4 separate regions of the Homo sapiens genome follow, and regions 1, 3 and 4 are each linked to region 2. Evidence: promoter capture Hi-C in human tissues and cell types (Jung and others, 2019). All regions are on one chromosome and are shown on one strand. Each heading gives the region's core, a stretch centred on a gene start or on the middle of the fragment in contact. The rest is flanking DNA. Distances are from core to core; before and after follow the strand shown. Region 1 holds the start of SKA2 (spindle and kinetochore associated complex subunit 2). Region 2 overlaps SEPTIN4 (septin 4). Region 3 holds the start of TRIM37 (tripartite motif containing 37). Region 4 holds the start of GDPD1 (glycerophosphodiester phosphodiesterase domain containing 1).

Evidence for each region. Contacts are between HindIII fragments. The study calls those that stand out against the background at their distance.
Region 1: the fragment with the promoter of SKA2 here is called in contact with a fragment that was not itself captured in region 2 in 2 of the 25 tissues and cell types used here (dorsolateral prefrontal cortex and lymphoblastoid cells).
Region 3: a contact is called between the fragment with the promoter of TRIM37 here and a fragment that was not itself captured in region 2, in 2 of the 25 tissues and cell types used here (H1 embryonic stem cells and heart right ventricle).
Region 4: the fragment with the promoter of GDPD1 here is called in contact with a fragment that was not itself captured in region 2 in 1 of the 25 tissues and cell types used here (H1 embryonic stem cells).

The regions. Positions count from the first base shown.
Region 1 is chr17:59,153,450-59,156,567 of GRCh38, forward strand. SKA2 (spindle and kinetochore associated complex subunit 2) reads right to left here and starts at 1,737. Exons shown (of 4, transcript NM_182620.4): 1 at 1,682-1,737. The coding sequence starts at 1,714. PRR11 (proline rich 11) reads left to right here and starts at 2,297. Exons shown (of 10, transcript NM_018304.4): 1 at 2,297-2,356. RefSeq lists enhancers at 1,525-1,764, 2,425-2,474. The HindIII fragment of the contact is 17,595 bases long and covers 1-3,118 here.
Region 2 is chr17:58,530,105-58,533,263 of GRCh38, forward strand. The region is part of intron 3 of SEPTIN4 (septin 4); the gene reads right to left. All of the region lies in intron 2 of SEPTIN4-AS1 (SEPTIN4 antisense RNA 1), which reads left to right. Among named protein-coding and RNA genes, the nearest start is that of SEPTIN4-AS1, 12 kb to the left of the region's middle. RefSeq lists an enhancer at 1,110-1,610 and a silencer at 1,708-2,157. The HindIII fragment of the contact is 6,319 bases long and covers 1-3,159 here.
Region 3 is chr17:59,105,174-59,108,190 of GRCh38, forward strand. It overlaps TRIM37 (tripartite motif containing 37), which reads right to left and starts at 1,707. Exons shown (of 24, transcript NM_015294.6): 1 at 1,268-1,707. The coding sequence starts at 1,288. It overlaps LOC124904039 (a long non-coding RNA gene), which reads left to right and starts at 1,923. Exons shown (of 2, transcript XR_007065864.1): 1 at 1,923-2,418. RefSeq lists enhancers at 795-1,454, 1,111-1,160, 1,371-1,500, 1,455-2,114, 1,591-1,690 and 2 more and a silencer at 1,821-1,930. The HindIII fragment of the contact is 14,372 bases long and covers 1-3,017 here.
Region 4 is chr17:59,219,129-59,222,266 of GRCh38, forward strand. It overlaps GDPD1 (glycerophosphodiester phosphodiesterase domain containing 1), which reads left to right and starts at 1,383. Exons shown (of 10, transcript NM_182569.4): 1 at 1,383-1,623. The coding sequence starts at 1,482. RefSeq lists an enhancer at 1,409-1,959. The HindIII fragment of the contact is 11,394 bases long and covers 1-3,138 here.

The DNA.
Region 1 (3,118 bases), core at 487-2,986, 620 kb after region 2:
ACAAAGAAAATTTAAACACAAAATGCTAAAAGTAATTGAAAGCCTTCAAATTAAATTTGTATATGAGAGGCACTCCAATTCATTAGCACAACAGAAGAAAATAAGATATATCAAGGCCTCACTTTTTCTGGGGTGGGAATGGGGGGTGGGTGAGGTTTCTTCCAGGATCACCACCCATCCTTTCCAAGGAAGAAGTTAGAGACCCAAGATTCAGCTTGAAGAAAGCAGGGCAGGCACAAAGGATACCTAAGCAGTAATGCCAGGGAATGGCGTGGGAAGGAGGGACGGATTACAAACGAAGAAAGAAGTCTTTTACTTTTTTAAAACTTAATCTTTTTTTTTTTTGAGACGTTGTCTCTGTCGCAAGGCCGGAGTACAGTGACGCGATCTCGGCTCACTGCAACCTCCGTCTCCCAGGTTGAAGCGATCCTCCTGCCTCAGCCTCCCGAGTAGCTGGGACTACAGGCGCGTGCCATCACACCCGGCTAATTTTTTTATTTTTAGTATAGACGGAGTTTCACCATGTTGGCCAGGGTAGTCTCAATGTCTTGACCTCTTGATCCGCCCGCCTCGGCCTCCCAAAGTGCCGGGATTACAGGCGTGAGCCACCGCGCCCGGCCAATCGTATTTAACAGACAAGCAAACAAACAAAAAAAGACAGGAGCTCAGTGGCAGGCGCTTCCTCCAAAGTCCAGGTTTTTAAGGAAAGCAGCCCAACCTGGGAAAAAAAAAAAAAAAGAAAAGAAAAGAAAAAAAAGATAATGCTGAACGAAAAGGGCTGAAGACAGAACAAGGACACTAAGAGGAAAAAAGCGCGGGCGATCAAGCTGGTAATCTAAGGATGGGAGGGAGGGAATAAAGAGAACAAGTGAGGGACGGATCCTTAAAGAAAACTAGGACAGCCCCCCAGCTGGGCGCCCCCCGAGCAGGCCAAACACGCCAGCAACAACGGGAGTGCTTTCCAATTCTTCGCCCCCGTTTTCTACTTTCACAGATGAATGAAAGTGCACAACTCCAGAGCAGGATGCCTTTCCTGTCTCAATCCCGCCCGCGCTCCGGGAGCGGAGCTCGTGGTTACGATCCCCTTCGCTCACACCTCTTCCCTCACCCACGGTTTGCCACCTCCGGATCAAACAGAAACGGGTTCCTTGGCCGTTAGGAAGTTGTGCATACAAGTCTAGCATCCTTTCTCAGACTTTCTCGGCCCGCCTTTTAGAACGTGAGCGGGTTGGCCCTACAGGGATTTCTCCTCGCCCCCGTCAGTTTATTCCCCACCCCACCCTCCGTTCCCCTTTCTTGGAGTGTGAACCACCTCTCCCTTCTTGGGACGCTTAGGGACCGTTCCATTCACATCTTTTTTGGTACAAACACAGAATGCGGTCTGCACCCGGCGCAGTTTCGTAAGGGGTGTAAAGGTGAGGGCAAGGAACAAGGAATTCCAAAGGCCCCGCACCCTCAGCATCTCCCGCCATTTCCCTGACGAGTTTCCCGGATGTAACCCCTTACCCGAGGCGGTTTAGACACCAGACGGTGGCGGCTCCCTTTGGTGCAGGAGGAGGGAACTCGACTCTGGTCCAGCCTCCGCCGCCCGGAGTTTCCGGCGACTCCAAATTGTGCCCCACCTCCGAGGCCATGGGGGAAAAATAAACTACCCAGTAGATCTCCTTCACTTTGCACTCACCATCAGTTCCAGCTTATCGACCTCCGCCTCCATGTTGAATAGTTGACATTCCGCAGACCGCGGCGGCGCTTAAGCCGCAAGCCGTACTAGCACGGAGGGCCTCCATTGGACAGCTGTCACTCAACATCTCGCACTCATTGGCTCCTCCGTTCCACCGGCTCCCGCCCATTGGAGACTGGGTAACGCCCCTCTGCATGAGACACATTTTCCTGTTGGGCAAAGGCACAAAACGCCGCAGGAGGATTGGCTGCTGTGCAAATTTTTTTTTCCATTGGCTGCCCCCTCCTCTCTACTTTCAATTTTGTAGTTAGGGCTCTGCAGAGAAGAGCTTGAGATTGGTGCAATTGGAAGAAGAGCCAACCAATCACACCAGAGCTTCCACCGACAGCAGAGGGGACGTAACACACCTTCTTTCCCCTCCGGCTTTCCTTCCCCTTCTCTCCCGCCTTCTCCTTATTCATACCAGAAGCGCCTCAGCTCTGATTGGCTGGAGCTCTGTGCTATCTCAGCCAATCACAAGCCGGGCTGTGCTCCTACACCATCCGAAGAGCGAATCGTGCAGAGACCGTGTCTACGATTGGCCTCTCCCTGACAAGGATTTAATTTTGAATTTTTCTTTATGGCGTGGGAGAGGCCACAGCCCGGACTCCATCGACTCCCCCGGCTCTTAGACTAGTAAGTGCAGGAACGATTATTTCTTTGTTATCTGAGCTCGCGTCTTGAGTAGCTGGGCCTGTTGCTGCTTGTGTTTTTATGGTTTAGGGAGGTGGGGACTTTGGCTGGACACGAAGGGGAAATGGAAAGGAGGAAGGGGAGGTTTGGGGCTGGGGAAGAAGTGCTCGGCCTGGCTTCATCTTAACCATACTTCTATTTAATTAACACTTCGCAAGATACGTTTTGGAGCAAAGCATCTGCCTTCCTTTTGAACATTTCTTTACATATTTGCTGCTCAATGCAAGTCCACAGATCAGCGGCATCCGCATCTCTTGTTTGCTTGTTACAAATGCAAATTATCGGACTCCACCCAAATTTACTAAATCAGAATATACATTTTAACAAGATTTCCCTGAGTGATTTCTATGCACATTAAAGTTTAAGTTGGTACATTTCTTGACTGGGAATATTACTATGTTACTCGATATTGTCTGGCATGCTGTTAGAGTGTCAATTTTAAATGCGTGTCCTGTTTACTGAGTGCCTAATACTGTGCGGGATGAGACTTTAGGGAGCTGCAGTCTCTTTGGAAAAACAAGACAGAACAAAAACAGCAATGCTTAAAAAAAAAAAAGCATAAAACATAAAATTTAAAAAAAGCAAGTACCCAGAAATAGTGCTATGGGTGTTCAAGAAGAATCAATTGGACTGCTAATGGAAATTAAGTAATTGAAGGCTATTTGTGGAGGAGCGCAAGAGACTTCCATAAAAATGTGTTTTAGG
Region 2 (3,159 bases), core at 187-2,686:
GAAGTGTGCACTCAACTAGGGGTCAGGGGTCCACTGTTTCTGGTTGGGTGGAAACATCTTTTGTGAGTCTGGATAGTGTCTTAATTTGAGGACCTTAATGTTCAGTTGTGAATGGCCCTTCCTTGCCTCCCAGCGAGGCTGGGGAGAGAAAGCACTCCCAGATGATAGATACCTTAAGCTGCTTTGAACCTGAGAAGAGAAGGTGCATCCCAAGTCACAGGATGGTCATTAATGTTGGCCTGTCATTCTTTTCACATGTAAATTTAAACCCCCTGGCATAGCTGGGTTGGGGGGGTCTCCCCCACTGATTCCCAAAGCAGCTAGGACACTGACCTCCTTTGACAAAGAGACCCTCATAGAGGAGTCTGATCTGAACCAGTCAGCCTAAGAACTTGGCTGGCTTGAGGGCAGGGGCCTGAGGATGGGGACTTTGGTGATGGTGGTTGGGGTGGAGGGGGGTGTGTCTTTAATTAGAGAAGAACAGTGTGGCCTCGGACAAGCCGAAAGCACCAAGACCTCAGCTGAACTGAAGTTAGTGTGTGGCAGAAAAAGCCCCTCTAGCCCCTGCTGGGCTTGGCACTGGGGACAATCAGTGCTTCCCTAGGCTTCCATCCCTAGAACAATCAGTCCATCCATCCACCATGTGGGGAGAAGTGGGGGAAAGGAATAAGGACAGGCCTCTCTCAGGAACCCCCGTTGGGGGAAGGTCACAGGGTCACCAAGACTTCCTGGCCAAGGCTTGGGCCTCTGCCTGGACACAGCTTGAGAGACAAGAGCCCAAAAGGTTGGCCCTACCAAACCTGAAAGCTTCTGATCCCAGGGGGCCCAGGGAGCTCCCTTCTGGAGGCTGCCCACAGCCAACATCCCGCCCCACAGGCTGGTCAGTGATCCCCCCCTGCTGTAAACAGTTTGTGTCCCCCAATGCAGAGGGCAAAGGCTGTGGGGCTTCCAGACTGAGAGGAGAGGACGGTGTGTGGCCTAGAGGTCCTGACACCCTTACGTTATTTGTGGCAGGCTCTGGCAACAATGTCAGGAGAAGAGATTACATCTTCAGAGCCAAGCATCAAAAACTTCCTACCTGGGCACCTCCAGGGAGGCTGGCTGGGGTTACTGTTTCTCTTCCCACTACAGGCAGGTGGCAGGGATGGGTGCCCCCACCCCCACACACTGCAGAGGGACCTGGCTGGTGGGGAGGGAGCGGGTAGATGCAGCAGGAGGAAGCTTTCCCATGGTTCCTGTCCCAGGGGCAGAAGGATATAGCTAATCCCACCGGGCAGGATGGTGGGCTGGGCCTCCCCCTCTCTGGGGTCCCTTTGGGAAAGGGCCAGGGACTGCCCCTTGTCAGGCTGAGGGAAGGAGGGGCCAAGCGTCTTACCATCCCTCCTGGTGAGGCAGGCAGTGTTTGTGGGCCTCCTCTGCGTTTTCCAAATGAAGTTGGTACTGGCCCCTGTGCCCAGGGTAGGTGGGTGAGGAGGGGTTACTCAGGTAAAAGCTGACCCAGGCGAGGATGGGGACCCTCACCTCCGCTTATTACTGATGCGCCTTCCCCAGCCCAACAAGCGCGTCTCCACCAGCGGGCACCTCCCTCAGCACGGACCCACCCCTTCGTCCTAGAGCGCAGGCATCACCCAGGGGTTGGCGCCCACTCCGTGGCTGCTCAGAGGGAAAAACTTGGGAGCAGCGACGCACCGCCGCCCGGCAGCAGTGCCAGCCTGTGCCCGGGGCCGGCGACGGCGCCTCCCACCCTGCACAGCCGCGGCTGCGGTGCCGCGGGTCCCCTTGCAGCCGCCCGGGAGCGACCGGCCCTGCGCACCCCAGCCCTGCCCCGCGCCCGCCCGCCTGCCTGCCTGCCTTACCATGGCTGCAGCCCGGGCGGGGCCGGCTCCGCCTGGACAGCGCCCGAGCGACCCGCGGCGGAGCTGCGCGCCGACCTCGCAGCACCGCCGTCACCCTCCCGCCTCCCCGAGTGCGGACCGCTGCGGGAGGGGCCCGGCGGCGGGGGCGGAGCGAGTCGGCCCCGGGGCGGGGCCTGTACCTCAGCTGCTAGCGGTGCCGGCGCGAAGTGGGTCGGGGTGCCCAGCTGGGGGCCGGCCTCGCAGCCCGCGACCCCCGGATGCGCAGAGTATGCAGAGTCACCCAGGACAGAGCGGGGAGCCTCAGCTCCTCGTCCCCGGGCTGCACTGGACACCTGGCTCTTTTTTACTCAGCTCCAGAAGCACCGCGGGGGCTTGAGCCAGTTCCCAAAGAAAAAGGAACGGCCCACCTGACATCCCCAGAAGGAGACGCCTTTGGAAGGGAGGGGGAGTTGCTGCATGAGTTGGAGAGAAACCATTAGTTACCGCAGGGATTCAACAAGGTTTTCACAAAGTGAATCCGGCTGATGCCCAAGTTACTGATCACTACACCTCCTAAAGGGGAATGTCAGATATTCTCCACCTCCACCCGAGCTGTGAAGGGGCAGGTTAGAGGCAGGTTCCCTTCATGCAGTACCCCAGATTACAGATTAAAGAGGATTTGCTGCACAAATTATCCAGGGATCATCTGCTGGAAGGATAGAAGGGAGAGGCTGAGTGGCTTTAACAGGGCGGTGTAGCCTTGCCTGTGGCTGAGGACAGTGGGGAGGGCCTCAGGAGAGGCCAACCCAGGCGTGACCCAGGCCCAGCTGGGCCACTCTTCCTCTGACAAGCAGGTGAGATGCCGAGGGGACAGATGCCCCAGAAGCTTTAGAGGCATTAGAGGCTCAGAAAGGTCAGAGCAGCAGCTAGGGGAAGGCAGATGCTTGGTGAGTGGGGTGTTGGTGAGGGATTCCCTGAGCTAAGTAGGGTCTGAGCTGGTCAGGCTCCTGTGGAAGTTTCCAGAAGCATGTCCCTTCCTGACCCGCAAGACCCCTCTCTCAATGGCAGGCTGACTGGCTTCTGCCTGAATACACTCTGGACAAAACTGAGACCCACAGGCACGGCCCTCTCTGTTGGTAGAAGTGCCAGAGGCCTGCCTGCTGTATTTCAGTCTGACCTGTGAACCAGTAGCACTGGTTGGGACCAGTCAGAACTCAGCCAGGGGAGGGAAGAGGGCCTGGGGCAGCAGGTAAGATCAGGCTGAGAAAAACAATGGGGCTGCTACTGGAGATGTTATTGGCTGTTTGGCACTGGTGGACTGGAA
Region 3 (3,017 bases), core at 457-2,956, 580 kb after region 2:
TTCCCCAAAAGGTATAAACTGATTTTATAATTTAGAGGAAAAAGAAGTTTAAAAAGACACATCCTAAAGGCAGTGTACTGTGACCCAGAAAAAAATGAATTCAGAATCCAGAAATCTGAATTGCTGCCCTGATGTTACAACAGACTAGCTACTTATTTGAACCTGAGATTCTGCCCCAATTGAAAATGTTGACGGTAGTTCAAAGCGATCTTGGGAACAACAACAACAAAAATATGTAAATACAAGAAACAGTATTATGTTTGCAAGCCTCAATTTAATCAATTTAGGAAGTAACTGAAAAGTTTTTAACAAGAAAAAGGATACAATTAAACGTATACTTATTGTATTGTATACTTTGTTTTTATATTACTGACATTTACTTTCACTCCATTCTAGAATTAAACCCTCCTAAAACCAAGATAAGTTTACAAAACCTTTATAATACTTTATATGAGGAATTAAGGAGAAAATTACTCATTAATCTCATCATGACTCTGTAGGGCCAGAAAGAACCTGGGAGATGCAGATTCTGTAACCTGCAACGGGGTGGACAATAAGACTACTGAATGACTAGTTTCAAGTGGAATATCCATAACATAGTTACCCCTTACTAAAAAGCAAGGATTTCCTATTTCAGTATCTGAAAGGTTCAAAATTTGATAATGATTACACAATTATGTTCAATAAACAATCTTTTAAAATATATTCCTAGCCTTTACTTACATATCCTACATATCCCAACTATTTTAACTCACAGCTTACAAGAATCAGTTATAAAAAGAAGAGTTTGTTCTGGAAACTACACATGAGATAATATATGCTGATTCAATCTAGGAAGGAAGGGCAGAAGCCTGCAAAATGTGCCACTGAGAGGGAAAGATGACTATCCATTTGGAAGGAGATTTAGATCAGCTCAAGAACTCGCAAGGACTGGTGGCGAGTGGCAGGGTACATCCATCTGATGAATCTGCAGTTTTGGTCGGAAAAGGATGCTGTTTGCAAACACCCGGTGGGGATGAGTACCTGTGCCAAGACATCCTTGAAAACTCCAGGATACGCACCACCTGACTGCGGAACAGTGAGCACAAGACACCCGGAGCGCTGCAGAATGGGCACGGCATCCTTGGTACCGGGCCAGCCCTCTCCACAGCGGCAGGGGCGGGGTAGGGGTGCCCTACTGGAGGGAGGACATGGGCACGACTCCCCGAATAAAAACCGCTCATCGGGTGGGGGCGGGGACTAACCACCACCCTCACAACCCCCTCACCTCCACGCTCTGTTCATCCATTGCCTCCGGCTCTCGGCGGGGCCGCTGGCGACCCGCAGGCTCCGCAGTCTGACCTCTTAGGCGCCGGCCCGAGGTCGCCAGATCAAATCGCCGATAAAAGCCCGGCGCCCACGTCAGGGGGCTCTGACAACCGCCCCACCTGCGCGCCCCATCTCTTCAGGTCCAGCGCCGCCTACCCCCATTTCGCCATTTTTACCGGCGCGCCCGCCCCGAGGCGCAGAAGTAGGGCGAACGGTGGCCGCAGCTCCTTTCTCCCGGCTCAGCCGCCGGCCAGCAGCCGCGCCGGAACCTCGGCCCACGTGACGCGGGCGCGCGCCTATGGAACTGACGGTGGAGTTCAGCGAAGAAGGTGCCGCAGAGAATTCGCAAACACCAACCGTAACCAGAGCAGCTGGGGGCGCGGCGGCGAGAGAAGCTGCGAAGCGCATGCGCGCAGGACGCTGTGGGAGGGGAAAGGAGGGGAGGAGCGTGGAGCGATCGCCTAGTTCCCGCGTTGCGGGGCGCATACGAGACTTGGCGACTCGCTGCCTCAGGGTTGCGTGCCTCCGGCCCTAGCCTGCGCAGGCGGCCTGAGCTTGGGGCTCTGCTACGCCACCCACGCCCACCTTGGCGGAGGGCGGGGCCCCACGGCTCTCAAACTTGCGCGCCAAAGACGGAGCCACCTGGCGTACTGGTGGAAAGCGCAGACTTCAGAGCCACACCCGTAGTTAAGTATTCGGACTCTGAGATTCCAGGGTGGGGCCCAGGCCATCCGCGTTTTCACCCAGCATCGTGTGATTCGGCAGCAGGTGGTCTGTGGCCCGCACTTTGAGAAACCCTGGTGCAGAAGGTTCATGGTTAGTGGTTCTCTCTGGAAGGAACAGTCTAAGGTTTGTAGGACTTGCGTTCCACCTACCAAAGCTAATCGAGTTAGAAGGCTCCAAACTGAGGTGTCATTTCTCATTACGGTGGTGAGAGGACGGGACCACACACTGTGAAGTCTTCGTTCCCACATCCCACACTTCATTCTTGCCGCCTAAGTTGTCGCCGTGGGACTATTGAAAGGGTATCAGCGATATTCATCTTTCCTATAAATGGGATCTGCTTTCTACAGTTTCCTGCCAGATGTGTAAAGATTGCAAGAATTGAAGGTTTGTGAGACAAAGAGGGCATATCAAATTCGTAATTTGAATTTAATTTTTCCTGTATTTATTGCAAACAACTAATTATACTTAACCGACCTAGAGTGCACATGTAGAGAATCACTAATAATCTAGAAATAAGTTCTTGAATATCAGGCATTTAGGCTTATAGGTGGTGGGTAGCAACAATTTTTTTTAACTACTTGGGTCATGAACAAGATATAATTTAGAAAGATTAATCTGAGACTGAAAAATTCTTTCAGTAAGAATTATTTGTGGTCTTTGACCTACATGGAGCTATTTTTACGAAAATGGCCTCAGTTGTACATTTTTAAATGGTTGATGGTTAATATTATGAGAATTTTACTTAAAAGAATTATTTATAGAATGCAGTGCTAGGCCTGGCGTGGTGGCTCACACCTGTAATCCCAGCACTTTGGGAGGCCGAGGCTGGCGAATCACCTGAGGTCGGGAGTTCGAGACCAGCCTGACCAACATGGAGAAACCCCGTCTCTACTAAAAATACAAAATTAGCCGGGCGTGGTGGCGCATGCCTGTAATCCCAGCTACTGGGGAGGCTGAGGCAGAAGAATCGCTCGAACCCAGGA
Region 4 (3,138 bases), core at 133-2,632, 690 kb after region 2:
CTGGAGTGCAGTGGCGCCTTCTCGGCTCATTGCAACCTCTGCCTCCCGGGTCCAAGAGATTCTCCTGCCTCGGCCTCCTGAGTAGCTGGGATCACAGGCACACGCCACCACCCCTGGCAAATTTTTGTATTTTTAGTAGAGATGGAATTTCGCCATGTTGGCCAGGCTCCTGACTTCAAATGATCTGCCCGCCTCAGCCTCCCAAAGTGCTGGGATTACAGGCTTGAGCCACCGTGCCCAGCCACCCCCTATTTTCTTCTAATTTTCTTTTTATAGTTGAGATAGGGTCTTGCTCTGTCGCCCAGGCTGGGGTGCAGTGGTGCAGTCATAGCTCACTGCAGCCTCGATTTTCCAGGCTCAAGCAATACTCCCACTTCAGCCTCCCAAGTAGCGTGACTACAGGTGCACGCCACCACGCCGGGCTTATTTTGTTTTATTTTTTGTAGAGATGGGGTTTCGCCATGTTGCCCAGGCTGGTCTCGAACTCCCGGGCTCAAGCGATCCACCCTTCCTTCCCGGCCTCCCTAAGTGCTGGGATTACAGGCGTGGGCCACCGCGCCCGGCTGAATCAGGATTTTAAATATTCACTCTGCTTTTCTAGTCCTGTGGGAGATATGGTCTTCTCCGTAAAATTTCTCCCTCAGTCCTGGGTGATTTATTTCTTTTGCATTGAAGTGTGTGGCTTTTCGTGTGTTAGCAGTTTGTAATTTGTCGGGTAAAAGGAAAACTAGTAGGGCCTTCTGGAACTTAGTTATCTGTCTTTCTAGGACTTTTAGGTAATACCTTATAACCTTAACAAAGTTTCCTTATTTTATACGGACTTGTAAGTCAACAAATACTTCTACAGTGCCTATTGTGTACAAAGAATGAGGATTGCACTTTCACAATGAAATGAGGGAGGACAGGGGCCGATCTCTCAGATATTTGACTGATAAACCAGTACCTTTTCTAGTATATGCGACCATAGGGGAAATTCTCTCTAGGCTAGATAAACGGAGGAGTTTATTTAGTGTTTTAGCAAGCTTTATCGCCTCCATAGGTACAAATTATTTGCATTTTCTAGAGCAAGGGATAAGACGCGCCCTGGAATCTTTCCTTTTTGATGTGGATTTTCCAATTAGGAAAGGCTGCCCGTGAATAGTCTTTTCTGCTTGAGTGATGGCCAACACACTGGCAGGTTTGCAAGCTTTCTCTTCATGAGGGTCCGTCCACAGAGCTAGGTGACAAACGCTCAGTCCAGGATCTCTGCAGGTTCCTACACGGGAGCCGGAGAGCGCCTGCGCGTCGGAGCCTCTTTGTTGCTGGGGCGCTGGGGTCCAGCTGCGCGTGCGCAGTAGGCCGGCACCGACAAGTGCGCTGCACCAGTGGCACCGGCTGGGGGCGAGCCGACCTCGAGCAGCCGCCGCCGCCGCCGTCGTTGCTACTGCCGCAGCGGAGTTCAGAGGGCCCGGAGGTGGGAGACTTCCCACACGGTGACTGAGATGTCGTCCACTGCGGCTTTTTACCTTCTCTCTACGCTAGGAGGATACTTGGTGACCTCATTCTTGTTGCTTAAATACCCGACCTTGCTGCACCAGAGAAAGAAGCAGCGATTCCTCAGTAAACACATCTCTCACCGCGGAGGTGAGAGGGGTCCCCAGAACCCGATGACGGAGGTGGGGGAGGCTGAGGGTCCTTTGCGGCTCCGCAAAAGGCAGCCGGGTGCCAATCCCTGAGAGTTTGAGGAAGAATGGGGTTGTGTGAATTGAGGGCTCTTCCGGAGGTGAAGGCTGTGTGAAGGGAAGGTCTCCTGAGGGGAGGGAAGGAGAGGGATTCCCGGTCAGAGCCACGGCGGGGGTCTCTCGAGGGCAGCAGTGTGAGGGGTTCTCTGAAACGGGAAAGACACGGTCGAGAATGAAGGGTAGGTGGAGCGTTTCTCGGCGGATGGAAGGATGATCGCAAGGTCCCTTCCTAGCAGCAAGACACAAAGGGGGAGCGCCGTGCAGAACCGAGGGTACCCCGCGGGGGGCACCGGGAGCACACTGCTCCGAGCGAGCTAGTGGCTGAGTGGATGGGAAGAGCCGAGGCGACGAGGAGGGCTGGGGATTTGCATGAAGCTGGACGAGCTGTAACCCCTTGTCTGCGGTGCTGGGGGCCCGTCCCACCCCCACGTTCCGAGCACTCATAATTGAGAAGAGAGGGAAACCGAGTCCCCCGAGCCAGGGACATTTCCCAAGGTCACAATTAGAGCTAGGGCTGAACTGAGACAGGAGCTACAGCGTCCTGGTCCTCAGGGCTGGAAACCTTGCATCTTTTTTTTTTTTTTTTTGAACACTGCAATAAATAAATAAATAAATAAATAAATAAATAAACACGCAAAGACACGTGGATTTTCAACAGACTAAAAATGATTTCGTTTAGGACAGGACAGTATTGTTTAAAGAAAACAAAAATAAGTTTCTTTTGGAAAAGTGTTTTGCTAAAAGGAGCCCAGGTAGTCCACCCTCTAATTTCCCAGATAACAGGCCAAATCTTTGCTTCTTCATTATTGTGTAATAATGTGTCTTCATTGCATTTCAACTATGATGTATAAAGTGCGGTGAAATTGGATTATTTTCAATCAATTTTAACTGTTCTTTAAGGCTGAATCTTAAACCGGTTTAAAATTTGCTTGAAATTTAATACACACTTGAAATGATAATTTCTAGGAGTTTACAGTCTAAAACTTGGTGTAGTACCATAATCACTTTACTAACAAGTATTGGCCAAGGAAAAAGGTTTTGAAATATAAATACGGAAGTACATTATCATTCTTCTATATAATTTTATTAGTTAAGCATAGTTCTAATGAGTGACTTCAATAGTATTCTAGCCTTCCCACTCATGAAAAGCCTCAGAGGTTTTAAAGGGTGGTCAGCCAAATGCCTTGTTATTGTTTATTTGGGTTATCTGTTTTAATAGCTACCTGGTTAAACTGTAGGATGACATTTAACTACTAAGGTGCCTTCAACCATTGGAACCAGGGACCGACTTTTAGTATTCAAGTTGCTGTCACAGAAGCAATTTTCTTTTTTCTTTTTGTGTTTTTGTTTGTTTGTTTTTTTGTTTGTTTGTTTTGAGATGGAGTCTCGGTCTGTCACCCAGGCTGAAGTGCAGTGG